6 separate regions of the Homo sapiens genome follow, and all the other regions are linked to region 5. Evidence: promoter capture Hi-C in 16 types of primary human blood cells and fetal thymus (Javierre and others, 2016). All regions are on one chromosome and are shown on one strand. The core of a region is centred on a gene start or on the middle of the fragment in contact, and the rest is flanking DNA. Distances in the headings are between cores, read along the strand shown.

Region 1 (2,700 bases), core at 162-2,661, 2.1 Mb before region 5:
ATGTATTTGCCTATTGTGGACATTTCATATAAACAGAATCATACAATATGTGGCCTTTTGGGACTGGCTTAATGTTTTCAAGGTTCATCTTGAAAACCCAGTCACAAAGATTTATGTTTTTTTAAGAGTTTTACAGTTTTAGCTCTTTCTTTGATCCATTTTAATTTTTGAATATGGTATGAGGTAGGAATCCAACTTTATTCTTTTGCATGTGTATATCCACGTGTCCTAACACCATTTGTTAAAAGACTATTCTTTCTCCCATTGAACTGTCTTGACAGTTTTGTCCAAAAATCAGCTAACCATCATTACAGGAGTTTATTTCTGTACTCTCAATTCTATTCTTTTAATCTGTATGTCTATCCTTATGCCAGTACCACACTATCTTGATTACTATAGCTTTGTAGTAGGTTTTAAAATCAAGAAATGTGTCCTTGTTCTTTTTTCAGGATTGTGTTGGCTCTTCTGTGTCCCTTGCATTTCCATATGAATTTTAGGTCAGTTAATCAATTTCTGCAAGAAAAGCAGCTGGGAGTTTTTTTTTTTTTTTTTTTTGAGATGGAGTTTTGCTCTTGTTGCCCAGGCTGGAGTGCAATGGCGCGATTTTGGCTCACCACAACCTCCACCTCCTAGGTTCAAGCAATTCTCCTGCCTCAGCCTCCCAAGTAGCTGGGATTATAGGCATGCACCACCATGCCTGGCTAATTTTGTACTTTTAGTAGAGACAGGGTTTCTCCACGCTGGTCAGGCTAGTCTCAAACTCCCGACCTCAGATTATCTGCCCACCTCGGCCTCCCAAAGTGCTGGGATTACAGGCATGAGCCACTTCACCCGGCCAGCAGCTGGGATTTTAATAGGAATTACAGTAAATCTGTAGATCACCTTGGGGAGTATTGCCATCTTAAGTCTTCCAAACCTCGAACATAAGATGTTTCATTTATTTAAGGCCTTTCATTTCTTTCAGCAATGCTCTGTAGTTTTCAATGTGCAAATCTTACATTTCTTTTGTTAAATTTATTCCTAACTTTTTTTTATGCTATTGTAAGTGGAACTGTTGTTCTTAATTTCATTTTTAGGTTGTTCATTGTTAGCATATGGAAATACAGCTGTTTTTGTATATTGATCTTGTGTCCTGCTATGTTGCTGAACTCTTGTGTTAGTTCTAACAGGTTTTTTTGGTGGAATCCTTAGGATTTTCCCTATGCAAGATGGTGTCACATACAGAGTTTCACTTCATTTCCAATTTGTATGGTTTTTCTTTTTGTTTTTCTTGGCTAATTTCTCTGGCTAGAACCTCCAGTACAATGTTAAATAGAAGTGGTGAGAGGACATCCTTTTCTTCTTCCTGATCTCAGAGGGGTTTGAATCGTGATAATTATTTACACTATTATATGTCCTAATAGTTACTCATTAGAATGATGAAATGTCTGTGATTTTGTGAAATATTTATCAAATTATATTACTTTAAAAGTGATATAGGAGGAATGGGGAGTGACTGGTTAATGGTATAGGACCGGCTTCGGGGATGATGAAAATGTTTTGGAACTAGCTACAGGTGATGACTGTGCAATATTGTGAATGTACTAAATGCTACTGAATTGTATACTTTAAAATGGTCAGTTTTATGTTATGTGAATTTCACCTCAATTTAAAAAAGTGAAGTGCTATAATTTTCTTAAGATAAATTTACAGATTTTTCCAGTGAAAGTTTATTAATATATGTTTTATTTACTGGTTATTGCTTGGGCATCTGTTTCTTGGGCATTCTTTCTACTCAACTGTTAAACTAGATTTTTATCTATTATGGTAGATTGAATGTTACCTTTAAGGTATATATCCTCTTCTGGCTGGGCGCGGTGGCTCATGCCTGTAATCCCAGCACTTTGGGAGGCCGAGCTGGGCAGATCACGAGGTCAGATCGAGACCATCCTGGCTAACATGGTGAAACCCCATGTCTACCAAAAATACAGAAAAAAATTAGCCAGGCGTGGTGGTGGGTGCCTATAGTCCCAGCTACTTGGGAGGCTGAGGCAGGAGAATGCTGTGAACCCAGGAGGTGGAGTTTGCATTGAGTCGAGATCACACCACTGCACTCCAGCCTGGGCGACAGAGCGAGACTCTGTCTCAAAAAAAATATATATCGTGTTCTAGCTCCATGAAAATTGGAGTCTGCAAATAGTAATACAGTCTCCTAATTCATGTAATATATAGAATTCTGTGGATTAACAATTATTAAATAAGTTTTTTTTCCTTTTCAGAAGAATCGGACTCTGAAATACCTAAGAATGACTGGAAACAAAATTGAAAATAAAGGTGGAATGTTTTTTGCTGCAATGCTGCAAATTAATTCATCATTAGAGAAATTAGATCTGGGTGACTGTGATCTGGTGAGTAAACTGGTTATGAGAAAATCATCCAGATAGTGGGTCATTAGAGAACAGCTAAATCAGAGTCTTATGAATGATTAATTTTGCCTCTTATGTCTAATATCAGAGAAAAGGTGTTTTTCCCCTAGACATAATAGTGCAGATTATTAATAAAATCAGACTATAGTAAATAACATAGAAAAATACTTAATAAAAATATTCCTAAACTTCCATCTATATAACTCATCTTAAACTGTATGGAATTTTTAGAAAAAGATCATGTTCACTTTAATTAAACAAATATTACTTTATTCATATAATTTTTTACTTTTGA
Region 2 (2,700 bases), core at 125-2,624, 2.0 Mb before region 5:
CACTTCCAGCATTATGCTAGGTGAAACAAACCAATCACACAAGGTCACATACTGGATGATTCAATTTACATGACATCTTCAAGATAACAACATTGTAGAGATGGAGAATAGCTTAGTGGCTGCCAGGGAATAGGGGTGGTGGAGGGAAGGGGGCTGTAACTGTGAAGGGGTAGCATGAGGGAGATGTTCGTGGTGATGAAATAGTTTTTTATCTTAATTGAATTCGTGGTTACGTAAATTGACTGGTGTGATCAAATGACAACTACACATGTGTTGTACCAGTGTCAATTGTCTCCTTTTGATATTGTGCTATAATTATGTAAGATGTCCCCTTTAGGGGAGATGAAGTGAAGGGTACATGGAACTTCTCTGTACTATGTTTCCAACTTCCTATGAATCTATAGTTATTTCAAAATAATAAGTTGAAAAAAGTAGCCTTATTGACTTTTCTCTCCCTCCTTACTCTGTCTTCCCCAGTCCATCTTGTCACTCCGTCAGACACCAGGTAATATGAGACTCTGTTCTTTCCTTCTTTTACCCCTATCCCCATCATCTAAGCAGTCTTGAAGTCCTGTCCATTTCATCCCTGTGTGGCATCTCTCCAGTCTGACTGCCCCTCCCCACCTTCTTTGCTCTGGGTCAGACCCCCTAGTCTGACCTTCTGCAATAGCTCCCTGCTGGTCTCCTATCTTTCACCTATCTTGTACAATGCTGGTGACCTCTTTAAAATAGAAATCATATCCTATTACTTCTCTGCCCAAGAACAGTTGGTTGTTCCTTGACACCTGTGGTTTCGAATCACCTCCTTGCTGCGGCGGACAAGAGACTTCATTCAGTTCCTGTTCTGCATTCCTCTTATAAGCAATAGATCTGGATGTACTGGAGGCTCATGTTCCCGTTTTTGGTAGATGAGTAGAAAGTTGGCTCAGCAAGTTAGAGTTAGCCCACTAGAACAGGTGGATGCCAGTTTCTGGGCTGCAGAGACCCGACCCTCCCTTTCTATCAAGCTACTTCTGTGACCACGGGACATCCAAGTGCATAGATGTTCCCTGTTCCCTACAGGATTGTAGGGCAGGGTCCCTTTCTACTGCACTGTTAGCCATGGACATGTGGCCCATCTACACAGGGCCGAAACTGTGGGATAATGAGAGTTCAGGGGATTGCGGACACTCTGCTCCTTCTCTGCTTGTAAGCTTTCCTTTTATCACCTTTATTTTTTACCTTCCCTATGTGACACTAGGCATATATGCCCAGGACACCTCTGCCTGACACTTCCTCACCAGACTCACCTGCTGATACTCAGTGAGCCTGTGGTATCCCATAATGATCTGTGGTTTTCAGAAAATGTCCCTTCTCTGCTAGATCATGTGCTATTTAGTTTTCGATTACTTACACCTTCCTGGATCCTGGCTGTGTCCCTCCAAGCAGAAACAGAGCTACTGTGTTTCATTTTACTTAGCGCCCCTTCATTCTTCTATCATGGGACATCTAACATTGTTTTAAAATCCAGCTGTGAGGTTTGCTTCCCTTTCACCTCCCCAGACTGTGAAGCTTTTTGAAAGATGGGATACCTTGTCTTTTAGCTTTGTATTCCTGAAGCTTGCGAGAACCTCGCACAGGGTTGGTATTTAGTACACATATGTTAAACGAGCAAATTTTGACATGCATGAGAGCATTTTATGAACAGTAAATGCTATACCAGCCTTAGTTATGATGACAATATCTTAATGAAGCCAGCAGAATAAATCATAATGGTTGGAACCGGAGCTGTCAATATAGCAAAATCAGTTACCAATTTTAAAAACATCAGCCCCTTGACACACACACAGATATACACACAGACACATCCTCCATAGTGCATAGTGTGTAGTCAGCTTTCATACTTGGCCTAATACACTGCAAAGATTAAAGGTCTTTTTCCCTTTTCTTCGCAGACATTCATGGTGGGGGCTTGTTCCTCACAATCCACACATTACGCTTCACATTCGCGTCATTCGAATACAAGATAGCTGTTACAGGACGTGGTGTGGTGCTTGGTGTGGTGGTTGACAGAGTTAAATAAATATTTTTTAGAGGGGAAAATACTTTTTTATGTGCAAAAACAACTGAATTTCGGCCACCAAATCATTTCCTCCAGCTCAACACCAGCCACCAGAATAAAGACAGGTCATTCCTCACATTGATTGATCTGAGGCTCAGAGCTCTGTCTCCCTTTCCTAGTGGGAGAGGTTGTGGGAGAAGTTGAACATGGCTGGGTTCTCTGACTCAGATGCATTGCTTTTATGGTAGCATTTTGCCCTAAAGGGGCTTTCTGTAAATTTGAGCTTAAGTATGTACTACTAGAGGCCTAAAGAAGGCTAAGTGGTAGCTACTCTATTTTTCAAAAGAATATTAATAGCTAAATGTAAAGTTAAAAACTGACTTTGGGCCGGGCGCGGTGGCTCACGCCTGTAATCCCAGCACTTTGGGAGGCCGAGGCGGGTGGATCATGAGGTCAGGAGATCGAGACCATCCTGGCTAACAAGGTGAAACCCCGTCTCTACTAAAAATACAAAAAAAATTATCCGGGCGCGGTGGCGGGCGCCTGTAGTCCCAGCTACTCGGGAGGCTGAGGCAGGAGAATGGCGTGAACCCGGGAAGCGGAGCTTGCAGTGAGCCGAGATTGCGCCACTGCAGTCCGCAGTCCCACCTGGGCGACAG
Region 3 (2,700 bases), core at 87-2,586, 2.1 Mb before region 5:
TTACTTTAGCTAAGAAGCAGAAAATGTGATCAAGAAAAGCTCAATCAATCTTAGCCACTTCAATCGTATCAAATAATACTAAAAATAATAAATTTGAAGGCTAATCTATGCAAAGGCAGAATGCTAATAATACCAGAGGAAATTTGGCAACTATTGCCCTTATAGAATTATGACGTCACTGTAGCAGTTTTTTGTTCATTAGATGCTTGGATTAACGAAGATATAAATAAATTAAACATAACCTCTCCATTTTAGCAAACTTCCTAAAGAGGCTGAGTCTTTTAATTTTCTATAATTTCTTCACATTCCAATACATTCCTATCACATTTAACCCAGAAGAGATTAGGTAACATTCTAATGCTTTGTAAATTGTATTTAAACCCACTATTTTAACTTGATACACATGCATAGATTTCTTAGATAAAATAATCAAATATTGTTTGCATCATACAAAGGTGGTATTTCAAACTCTATTCAAATAAGTCAGTCCCATGTCCCACCAGTGGCAATTTATTATGAAAATAATGTGTGTGCTGTGAAATGGTGAAGATCTCTACAGACTACAAGCATTAAGTGTTTTTATTATGTCCTCTAATTGGTTCTTATGACTTGGGTCCCAAATAGAGAAAATTAATGAATTAAAGAAATCAATACCAATAAAAAACATATTAACTGTACTACAGGTGTAGTTTAAAAGCAGAACACAAAAAAGCCACAGCATGGCAGAAATAAGAAATGATGTCATCTCACACTGAACAACAGCCTTGTGGGGGGAAAAAAAAAGAAAAAGAATATCACCATGCTGTTTGATTGGCACTATAAAAATTGACTTTGTGGAACTCATAATTTCATATCCAAAGATCAGGCAGTGAAATAAATTAATATGTGGGAAAAGTGGCATGGGGATGAGTGGTGCAAATATCAGGATAATAACGAATTTTCTACATTCATTTGGAAGGAAAAGGACCATTGTGAAACTACAACCACCACCAAAAGTTGTGGTTTAATTTATAAAATTAACAAACCCCAAACTTATAGAAAACTCAGATATAAAATATTTAACTATAGTTGGCTTTCTGGTAACTCAAAATGTTTACTTATAATTGAGGTTAATTTCTTAACTCTTTATGCAATATAATGTACCAAATTTAGAAGCCAAGTGATTTCTAGTATGCATTAAGTTTATATCTAGAAAATTCTTTCTGGAATTCAGTATTTATTTTAAAAAGTGCATAACAGGAGTAAGAGAGGCTTACCAAAATATTTCAAAACTCAAGTACATTTTCCTCATCTCCAATATTTTAGAACGGAATAAAACATAAACTGAATCAAATTTTGAAACTGTCTTTGACAAGATAAAAACACCAAATATCTACTTAAAATTCATTTTGAAAATACAATCTCAGATAACTCAAACCAAAAGTGCTGACCATTGGTTTTCTCCAGAATACTCAGTTCTAAATGAACAAAAATTTATATGCACTTTTCTAGATTTTGAGAAACATTTTTGTTTCATTAGAAAAGTTATTTCTAACAATATATTAATAGAGAAATAGCACAATTCTTATTCAGCGCCTAAATTTTTACGAGCGAAAATATGAAATTTTATTTTTATGCATAGTTTATGTATTGATCCATGGGGCTTACAAATAGCAACACACTCTTGGGCTGATACTATCGTGGATTTTGCTTAAATTATGAGGGCAGGAAAATTTTAAAATCCCACAGGTCACAACTGAATCACATTAACTGGCTGATTTAGTAAATGAAGGGCAATTCTAAAATGCAAAATAAAAATGGAATTAAGGCAGCTTTAAAAGAAAATAAAACTCATCCACCCAAAATAGTGCTACATAATTCATTACTTAAAAAGCTCTCTGTGGAGTATAGACATAAAGCCAAAAATAAAAACAAACATTGCAGTTGTGATGCAGCATCAGGTGCTTTTACTTCAGTGAATGAAAAATAATGGTCACAACTCAAATGAATGGGAATTTAATATGAATATATGCACCTTACCAGAGATGTTTGCTACCAATGATATCTTAGCAATTCCATATTCCTTACAAAGTCAGTATAATTGTTGTAAAAAAATCAACTGTGGTTCTGAATACCCATTCACAGTTGACCTCAACAATGTATCTGATGTAGGAGACTGAGTATCCGTGACAGGCAGAAGCATGTGATGGTCCTCAGTCCCAAGTGGAAGAGCTAATGGTAAAGTCATATCAGAAGGCTTCACATCCATAGTTTCTGATAAAGGACTTTTTTGTATGGAATCCTGTTCACTCAAAGTATGATCCTCTGCACTGGAGTCTAGAGTTTTATCTGCACCTAGAATGGAAGGAAAAAAAAATCTACATTATCTTTAAAACAAAACTAAACCCCTGAGGTAGACTAATGTACTTACCATTCCCAGAAATTACATTCCAACCACCATACCTTTACTCAAGCGGTTTCTCTTTTGTACATATGCCCTCCTCACTATCTATGTAAATTCAATCTGGGCCTCAAGGTTAAGTTCAAGCACCAACTCCATTTAAAAAAATGGACTTGATTAAGAATGAAACAGGGTGAGCTGTTATATCGGCTTAATCACACATTTGTCAATTTTCATATACTGCCTTGTGGCATCTATCTCTCTTATTGCCATTTAACATTCTACTCAGGTATGCCTTGAATCCTCAACCAGACTGTAAA
Region 4 (2,700 bases), core at 201-2,700, 2.0 Mb before region 5:
CCATCATGGAAGGGGTGGCATTGGGATGGAGCGCAGATATCCAGGCAAGCATACTAAAATGAACAAGTTGCTAAAGATGAGAATGAACAAAGCATATTCAGGGCATGTTTAATAGACTGATTTTGTTTTTAAAATTTTTGTTTATGTATGTATTTATTCATTTATTTAGTTTTAGAGGCAGAGTCTTGCCCTGTGTCCCAGGCTGGAGTGCAGTAGTGCAATCATAGCTCACTGCAGCCTCCAACTCCTGGGCTCTGCCCTCAGCCTCCCAAGTAACTGAATCCACAGGTATGCACCACCACGCCTAAGTTTAGACTGATTTTGTTCAAGTCAAGAGCTCATATAGAGCAGAACAAGCGCTATGACTAGCAAGGTTAAGTGAAGGCCAGGGACTGAAAGGCTTAAAGTGCTAAATATCCAATATGCAAAGGAGAGAAATTAAAGATTTAAAAGCAGGAGCCATAAGGAAACTATGTTATGATGAATGTGATAGTTTGGAGAATAAATTGAATGAGGAAGGCCCTGGAGATTTGGTGATCAGTTAGAAAGTTACTAGTCCACATATAAAGTGCCAAGTCTTGTACTCAAGATTATAAGCAATAGGAATTTAAAAAAAGAAATTATGAAAACTGACAAGATTTAGTGCCTACTTAGATATGAAGGGGAAAGAAGGGTTTGAGATAATGTGGGATGCTAAGAGAATGGTGGTAGTGTTGACATATAACTCAAAGCATTTAGCATCTACTCTATGTAAGGTACTGTGCTAAGTGCAATAGTGCTAAAAACAGGAGTCAGATTCTGTCCGTAAAAAACTTTACAACCTGGCAGATGCTATGAAAGAAAAAGGGGATGGGAGAGAGAGAAGGAGGGAGAGAGATGGAGAGGGAGATATTTTACTTTTCTTTCAGATCGAGGACCGACAGCGACAACTCCACGGAGTTTATCTAACTGAATACGAGTAAAACTTTTAAGATCATCCTGTCATTTATATGTAAAACTGCACTATACTGGCCATTATAAAAATTCGCGGCCGGGTGCGGTGGCTCATACCTGTAATCCCAGCACTTTGGGAGGCCGAAGCGGGTGGATCACTTGAGCCCTGGCGTTCGAGACCAGCCTGGGCAACATGGTGAAACCCCCGTCTCTACTAAAAACACAAAAACTAGCTGGGCGTGGTGGCAGGCGCCTGTAATCCCAGCTACTCAGGAGGCTGAGACACGAGAATCGCTTGAACCCGGGAGGCAGAGGTTGCAGTGAGCCGAGATCACGCCACTAGACTCCATCCAGCCTGGGCGAAAGAGCAAGACTCCGTCTCAAAAAAAAAAATCGTTACAATTTATGGTGGATTACTCCCCTCTTTTTACCTCATCAAGACACAGCACTACTTTAAAGCAAAGTCAATGATTGAAACGCCTTTCTTTCCTAATAAAAGGGAGATTCAGTCCTTAAGATTAATAATGTAGTAGTTACACTTGATTAAAGCCATCCTCTGCTCAAGGAGAGGCTGGAGAAGGCATTCTAAGGAGAAGGGGGCAGGGTAGGAACTCGGACGCATCCCACTGAGCCGAGACAAGATTCTGCTGTAGTCAGTGCTGCCTGGGAATCTATTTTCACAAAGTTCTCCAAAAAATGTGATGATCAAAACTAGGAATTAGTGTTCTGTGTCTTAGGCCCTAAAATCTTCCTGTGAATTCCATTTTTAAGGTAGTCGAGGTGAACCGCGTCTGGTCTGCAGAGGATAGAAAAAAGGCCCTCTGATACCTCAAGTTAGTTTCACCTTTAAAGAAGGTCGGAAGTAAAGACGCAAAGCCTTTCCCGGACGTGCGGAAGGGCAACGTCCTTCCTCATGGCCGGAAATGGAACTTTAATTTCCCGTTCCCCCCAACCAGCCCGCCCGAGAGAGTGACTCTCACGAGAGCCGCGAGAGTCAGCTTGGCCAATCCGTGCGGTCGGCGGCCGCTCCCTTTATAAGCCGACTCGCCCGGCAGCGCACCGGGTTGCGGAGGGTGGGCCTGGGAGGGGTGGTGGCCATTTTTTGTCTAACCCTAACTGAGAAGGGCGTAGGCGCCGTGCTTTTGCTCCCCGCGCGCTGTTTTTCTCGCTGACTTTCAGCGGGCGGAAAAGCCTCGGCCTGCCGCCTTCCACCGTTCATTCTAGAGCAAACAAAAAATGTCAGCTGCTGGCCCGTTCGCCCCTCCCGGGGACCTGCGGCGGGTCGCCTGCCCAGCCCCCGAACCCCGCCTGGAGGCCGCGGTCGGCCCGGGGCTTCTCCGGAGGCACCCACTGCCACCGCGAAGAGTTGGGCTCTGTCAGCCGCGGGTCTCTCGGGGGCGAGGGCGAGGTTCAGGCCTTTCAGGCCGCAGGAAGAGGAACGGAGCGAGTCCCCGCGCGCGGCGCGATTCCCTGAGCTGTGGGACGTGCACCCAGGACTCGGCTCACACATGCAGTTCGCTTTCCTGTTGGTGGGGGGAACGCCGATCGTGCGCATCCGTCACCCCTCGCCGGCAATGGGGGCTTGTGAACCCCCAAACCTGACTGACTGGGCCAGTGTGCTGCAAATTGGCAGGAGACGTGAAGGCACCTCCAAAGTCGGCCAAAATGAATGGGCAGTGAGCCGGGGTTGCCTGGAGCCGTTCCTGCGTGGGTTCTCCCGTCTTCCGCTTTTTGTTGCCTTTTATGGTTGTATTACAACTTAGTTCC
Region 5 (2,700 bases), core at 56-2,555:
AAATAGTTCAGAAGTTATTCTATATCAATAGCAAAATTTTTGCTTTTTATAGGCTACGCACCTATAACATCCACCAGATAACATCCACCTCGTCCTCAATTAGCAGGATTTTTCTCAATCTTCAGATCTCCCAGAACAGTTTTACTGGTGCAACTCAAACCAAAAACACTAACCACGCCCTTTATACCCAGAGTCAAGCTTCCTTTTGCTTTTTTGCCCTTAAAGTCGAAAAATGTAAATCTTTCACCCGAGAGGTTTTGCACCGGTTTCCTAACCCAACGCGGACTCTTTTAGCTGTGTCTTGATGTAATTCCTATTGGAAGACGTTTTCTCCAGGGCAGTGCAGACGCCCCGAAGAAGGACCCACGCTTACCTCCCACACACCTGCAACCCCTGACGGGATGCTGGAGCTTGTGCTCGGCGGACTGTGCTCCGCTCCGCTCTCGTTCCTGCTTTCGTCTCTCCCGGGAAACTACAGTCCAGACTGCGCCTCTGGCTTCTACAGGGACCCAAGCTCCGCCTCTCCCTCCTCTAGTTGGCGAATTTGGCAGCTGTTGCTCCTCCCCCTGCTGTTTCTGCAGCTGCCCGGACCGGAGGCAGCGGAAAGCAGCTGCCCTGGTACCTTTCCGCTCCCTGCACTTCTGCAGCTGCTCTGCCACTTCCACTCCCGTGGGGGTCCCTCTCCCCTCCTCTGTGGCTCACACCTGGAGCGGCCTCCTGCCCCACCCAGGCGTCTCTGCTGGGAGCCCCGGCTCAGCCTATCCTTCCCCGACCTGTGTGTCCGGATGCCCGGTGTGCCTGGGGCTTAGCTGCTCTCAGGGAAGCTGCCCCTCTGCCCAGTGCAAGTCCCCACACCAAGCCCTCCCTTCACCTGGGCGATTTCCCCGAGGCTTCCTCTCCACCCACACGGCATACTCAGCCCGACAGCCCCAGGATCCCCACCACAGGCCCCTCACCCCCTTCCTTCCTCTGCTCTGTCAGCCCGCCCCCTCAATGGGTGAGGCGCCTGCGGGGCCTACTCCGCACCCTGATTGGCGCAGGTGAGGGCTTGCCCCGCCCTTCCTCTCCTTTCCGTGCACCATCTCTCTTCATCTCACCTCCTCCCGCAAAGGCAGGGAATTCTCCTACTATTGGCTAGAAGTGTCACCACCCATCGCCTCAGGATCCCCCGCATGGCCTGCCGGGAAGTGTAGTCTTCCGATTGCAGGAATTGCGGACAACGCCGGCGAGCGGGACTACGAGTCCCCATAAGCCTCTGCACGACTCCGGCTGGGCAGGATTCCGGACAACGCCTGGTTCCTCTTGGGTCCTTCCGGCGTCGCCGGAGTGAATTGATCCGGGAGTTGAAGAGGGCTGCAAGGTGGGAAGTGAAGTCAGTGCCTCAGTTGCTGGTAAGGTGTAGCTGTTCTGTCCCAGTCCCCGTAGCTCTGCACCGAGCAGAAGAGGTCTAGGGTCACGCAGGGGCCATGGCTGAGGCACTTGGGCTTGGTTCTGGCAGGCGGAGCGGACGGGGCTGAGAGCGGGGCCCTACGGGCGTAAGCGAGGTTACCCTACGCGAGTGGCGTAAAGCGGGTTTGTAAATGCCGCCTGCCGGCTTGGGCCCGAACGCCTCCAGGAAGTCTCCTCTAGGTGGGGGCGGGAGGGGAAGGGCGAGGTTGGCCCCTGGTGCCCCGGGAGAGGGGACAGGGCGGATGTGCCTGGGGTGGGGTCCTTTGAAGGTGTGGCTTCGGACCGAGAGGTGAGGCTGCTGTTTTCCCCCTGCTTTGTAAGTAAGAGAAAAGGGAGGAGGAAGGAAAGGGTGCTTGGGAGTCGGCTCTTGGGGGTGACTCGGGTTATGCCCTTTGAGGGAAGAGGAGCACTGGAAGAAGGAAGAGACAAATGTTGGGGTCTACGGATTCAGTTCCAGTTTAATGATGTGGCCCTCTAAGGAGATAATTTTGCCTTAAACAGAAAGACTTGACCCTCTTAGGTGTCATACCTAAGGTATGTTTTTACTCCTTTACTGCTTTCAGAGCGCTTTCATTTTGGGATGCTGATGAGGAAACCGAGGGATTATATGACGTGCCCAAGGTCACACACGTAGGGACAGACTTTCTGAATCTAGTTCGGTTCGAGTCCAGCTTTAGAGTAGGGACGTTGGTTGTGCTTTTTGAAAAGGGTGGAGGAAGTTACAAAGTAAATGTATTTTATATAGTATATCTAAGAAGCCATTGTGAGATAAAAAGTTGTTTCTTGAACCGGAGTGAAATTCCTCAATAAAGGAAAGATCCTTTTGGAAAAAATAAAAATGGCCAGTTTCAACTTTTACAGATTTTTCCCCTTTTTTTAGGGGTGTATTAAATGATAGACTCTACTCTCACAGTTCATTTTTACGGGTAGGTAATAGGATGGGAGAACAACAGTTAAACAATATATCCCATCCTTAGAAGAATATTCTTTTCTTTTTCTACCTTAGGACTGTTTTTACTCTCATTTTGTAAAACTGATAATAGTGGGATTGGAATTCTTTCACAAAACTACACTTTTTTCAAATAATGTAGCGTTAGGAGAGTTTAGTGTGCCCATTACTAGAAAAGAAGGTATTTTGCATTTCTTGGAGGTAACATCGTCTTTTTTGAGACTTTACTTTTCCCCCATTTTCTTGACTCTGGGCTGTATTTGTGTGTGTGTCTGCAAATAATAAAATTGGGCTCTTGCATA
Region 6 (2,700 bases), core at 188-2,687, 2.1 Mb before region 5:
TTTGAGACGGAGTCTCGCTCTGCCGCCCAGGCTGGAGTGCAGTGGCGCGATCTCGGCTCACTGCAAGCTCCGCTTCCCGGGTTCACGCCATTCTCCTGCCTCAGCCTCCCGAGTAGCTGGGACTACAGGCGCCCACCACCACGCCCGGCTAATTTTTTGTATTTTTAGTAGAGACGGGGTTTCACCATGTCAGCCAGGATGGTCTCGATCTCCTGACCTCGTGGTCCGCCCGCCTAGGCCTCCCAAAGTGCTGAGATTACAGGCATGAGCCACCGCACCCGGCGAAAAAATCTCATTCTTAAAATATGTGACAATCACCCTATTGACTGTGTTACAGAGATGCCTTATTTTCTCGTAGAAAAAAATCCCAGCTATATAGCTCAACAGCTCCTTAACTCATATGTTCCTTTATCTGGCTTAATTCCTAACTGGGAAATCCTTCCCCACAGTTCCCTGCTTGAGCCCATGGGCATTCTTCCCATCCATTCCCTAGTCAGCCACCCTACTTTCATTCTGGCTAGAGCTCAGCTGAGCCACTCCCACCCCCACCTCTCTATGGATGGGTGGAATAGACAGGTAATTGGTGAATGGGTCACTTACAGTTGGAGAAAAAGAAAGTTCACTGAGGACAACCTATCTGTAAAAGTTTCACATACTTGGAATCTTCCATAATGCATTTTTCTCTTTTTTGTGTAGAGTAAGGACTCATTTTCCTAAAAATGCTGTAACAGTTTTCCAGTTTTATTTATTTACCTATTTATTTTAATTAGATGAAGTCAATCTTTGGAGAAACTGATGTTTAAGCTTTCCTCTTTGGCTATTTCAAAATTCTTCATCAAGCACTTAGATGTCTTCAATACAAAATGCCTGCATTCTGTGCAGTCCAAAACAATGAAAAAAGATTTTTCAATCTAACCATTTTATTATAACCTAGAAATTTCATTCTTATTGCTGTTCACTTAACTCATAAAAGCTTAGCTTTTCTTTTTCAAAGCACATTGAATGTTCAAAAATTTTTTTTAGGAGTATTTAAGATCCAGTAGTTAGTTTCATCATAGTCATAGTAAAGTATAATGAGAAGAAATCTAGATGTATAGAAAATCTGTAGAGCATTAGATGAGGACAATTACTGATGACACTGTAACTGACATATAGCCATTTTGGGATCTGGTACATTGTTTTGGTTTTTTCCTTTTTCTTTTTCTTTTTTTTTTTTTGAGGCGGAGTTTCACTCTTCTTGCCTCGGCTGGACGGCAATGGTACAATCTTGGCTCATTGCAACCTCTGCCTCCTGGGTTCAAGCGATTCTCCTGCCTCAACCTCCCGAGTAGCTGGGATTACAGGTGCCCACTACCATGCCCGGCTAATTTTTGTATTTTTAGTAGAGATGGGGTTTCGCCACGTTGGCCAGGCTGGTCTCAAACTCCTGACCTCAGTTGATCCACTCGCCTCATCCTCCCAAAGTGTTGTGATTACAGGCGTGAGTCACCGCACGTGGCCTGCTTTTCTCCTTTAATAGAAGTATACTCTACAAATAAAATCCATCTAGGTACACATTGAAAATCAGATATTTTTTGCATGCACACAGGCAAGTAGAAGCTACTGGTTAGGCTTTAAGAGCTAGTAACCCATGAGTTGAGTCTTTGGGGAGGGAGAGATAATGAGCTGGCTTAAAGGCCATGTTTCATTGAGGAGAGAAATGCATTGGAAGGTGGTATTAGCATAAGAGGAAATTGAGAAGGGAGGACAAATGCACACACACACACAAAACCCATCAGAATAACTGAAGAGGAAAAAGCACTGGTACACAGAGATTGTCATGTTCAATACAATAATATTTAACATGTCTACATTTCAGTGCAGTTTGACTTGTGCTAAAACTTGGTATTGGATGAAGCTTATTTTTGTTAACAAGCAGTCTGTGTGTGATTTGCTCCTTTGATTTCTTAAAATTTCTCTCAGAAAAGGATTAGGTATTATTCATGGCTCAGTATAATGTGTTATCCCTCCCACATGTACTTTATATTTTAAGTCTTTCACTCCAACTGCAGAATGACTGACTTAGTCCACTAAAAGGAATTTCTTACATCAGCAGTGGAATAGTTCAGGGCCGGGCTCTCACGGAACCTCAAAAATCCTCCAAGGTGAGTTGCTACATCAGTGGAGATTAAGTCCTAGAATCTCGACCTAAATCTACAAGTTACCATCAAAATGTTTACTTCCTGAAAGGCAGCTTTAAAACCCCATAGCAATTTGGGGAAAAAAGTTCTAGAAATAAAAAATCAAATAAAAGATTTTTTTAGCAGCCGGGCACAGTGGCTCACGCCTGTAATCCCAGCACTTTGGGAGGCTGAGGTGGGCAGATCATGAGGTCAGGAGTTTGAGACCAGCCTGGCCAATATGGTGAAACCCTGCCTCTACTAAAAATACATAAATTAGCCGGGCGTGGTGGCAGGCACCTATAGTCCCAGCTACTCGGGAGGCTGAGGAAGGAGAATCGCTTGAACCTGGGAGGTGGAGGTTGCAGTGAGCTGAGATGGCGCCATTGTACTCCAGCCTGGGCAACAGAGCGAGAGCTCATCTCAAAAAAAAAAAAAAAAAGATTTTTAAAAATAAATCCGTAAGGCCCAGGACTTTTATAATTTATAGGGAACACATGAGACTGGTGTCCATGGCCAGGTAAAGCAGACCTATTATTTG

Evidence for each region. The method cuts DNA at HindIII sites, captures the fragments that hold promoters and counts their contacts. A CHiCAGO score of 5 or more calls a contact.
Region 1: a contact is called between a fragment that was not itself captured here and the fragment with the promoter of PDCD10 in region 5, in 1 of 17 cell types (activated CD4 T cells). The highest score is 5.9, in activated CD4 T cells.
Region 2: a contact is called between a fragment that was not itself captured here and the fragment with the promoter of PDCD10 in region 5, in 1 of 17 cell types (fetal thymus). The highest score is 6.0, in fetal thymus.
Region 3: a contact is called between a fragment that was not itself captured here and the fragment with the promoter of PDCD10 in region 5, in 2 of 17 cell types (total CD8 T cells and total CD4 T cells). The highest score is 8.1, in total CD8 T cells.
Region 4: a fragment that was not itself captured here is called in contact with the fragment with the promoter of PDCD10 in region 5 in 9 of 17 cell types (naive CD8 T cells, non-activated CD4 T cells, total CD4 T cells and 6 more); the score reaches 26.5 in naive CD8 T cells.
Region 6: a contact is called between a fragment that was not itself captured here and the fragment with the promoter of PDCD10 in region 5, in 1 of 17 cell types (naive CD8 T cells). The highest score is 5.8, in naive CD8 T cells.

Annotation. Positions count from the first base shown.
Region 1 is chr3:169,803,740-169,806,439 of GRCh38, reverse strand. It overlaps LRRC34 (leucine rich repeat containing 34), which reads left to right. Exons shown (of 11, transcript NM_001172779.2): 6 at 2,259-2,387. Among named protein-coding and RNA genes, the nearest start is that of LRRIQ4, 7.8 kb to the left of the region's middle. RefSeq lists a cis regulatory region at 212 and an enhancer at 140-284. The HindIII fragment of the contact is 6,759 bases long and covers 1-2,700 here.
Region 2 is chr3:169,745,271-169,747,970 of GRCh38, reverse strand. No RefSeq gene overlaps it. Among named protein-coding and RNA genes, the nearest start is that of ACTRT3, 23 kb to the left of the region's middle. The HindIII fragment of the contact is 358 bases long and covers 1,196-1,553 here.
Region 3 is chr3:169,786,050-169,788,749 of GRCh38, reverse strand. It overlaps MYNN (myoneurin), which reads right to left. Exons shown (of 8, transcript NM_018657.5): 8 at 1-2,334. The coding sequence ends at 2,072. Among named protein-coding and RNA genes, the nearest start is that of MYNN, 14 kb to the right of the region's middle. The HindIII fragment of the contact is 8,036 bases long and covers 1-2,700 here.
Region 4 is chr3:169,764,355-169,767,054 of GRCh38, reverse strand. ACTRT3 (actin related protein T3) reads left to right here. Exons shown (of 2, transcript NM_032487.5): 2 at 1-134. It also overlaps TERC. Among named protein-coding and RNA genes, the nearest start is that of ACTRT3, 3.9 kb to the left of the region's middle. RefSeq lists promoters at 1,559-2,063, 1,197-2,063, a silencer at 2,055-2,314 and enhancers at 1,827-2,366, 2,525-2,614. The HindIII fragment of the contact is 3,023 bases long and covers 1-2,700 here.
Region 5 is chr3:167,733,497-167,736,196 of GRCh38, reverse strand. PDCD10 (programmed cell death 10) reads left to right here and starts at 1,305. Exons shown (of 9, transcript NM_007217.4): 1 at 1,305-1,535; 2 at 1,847-1,983. SERPINI1 (serpin family I member 1) reads right to left here and starts at 476. Exons shown (of 9, transcript NM_001122752.2): 1 at 374-476. RefSeq lists an enhancer at 1,054-1,493 and a silencer at 1,544-1,673. The HindIII fragment of the contact is 6,113 bases long and covers 201-2,700 here.
Region 6 is chr3:169,824,910-169,827,609 of GRCh38, reverse strand. The region is part of intron 2 of LRRIQ4 (leucine rich repeats and IQ motif containing 4); the gene reads right to left. Among named protein-coding and RNA genes, the nearest start is that of LRRC34, 13 kb to the right of the region's middle. The HindIII fragment of the contact is 924 bases long and covers 976-1,899 here.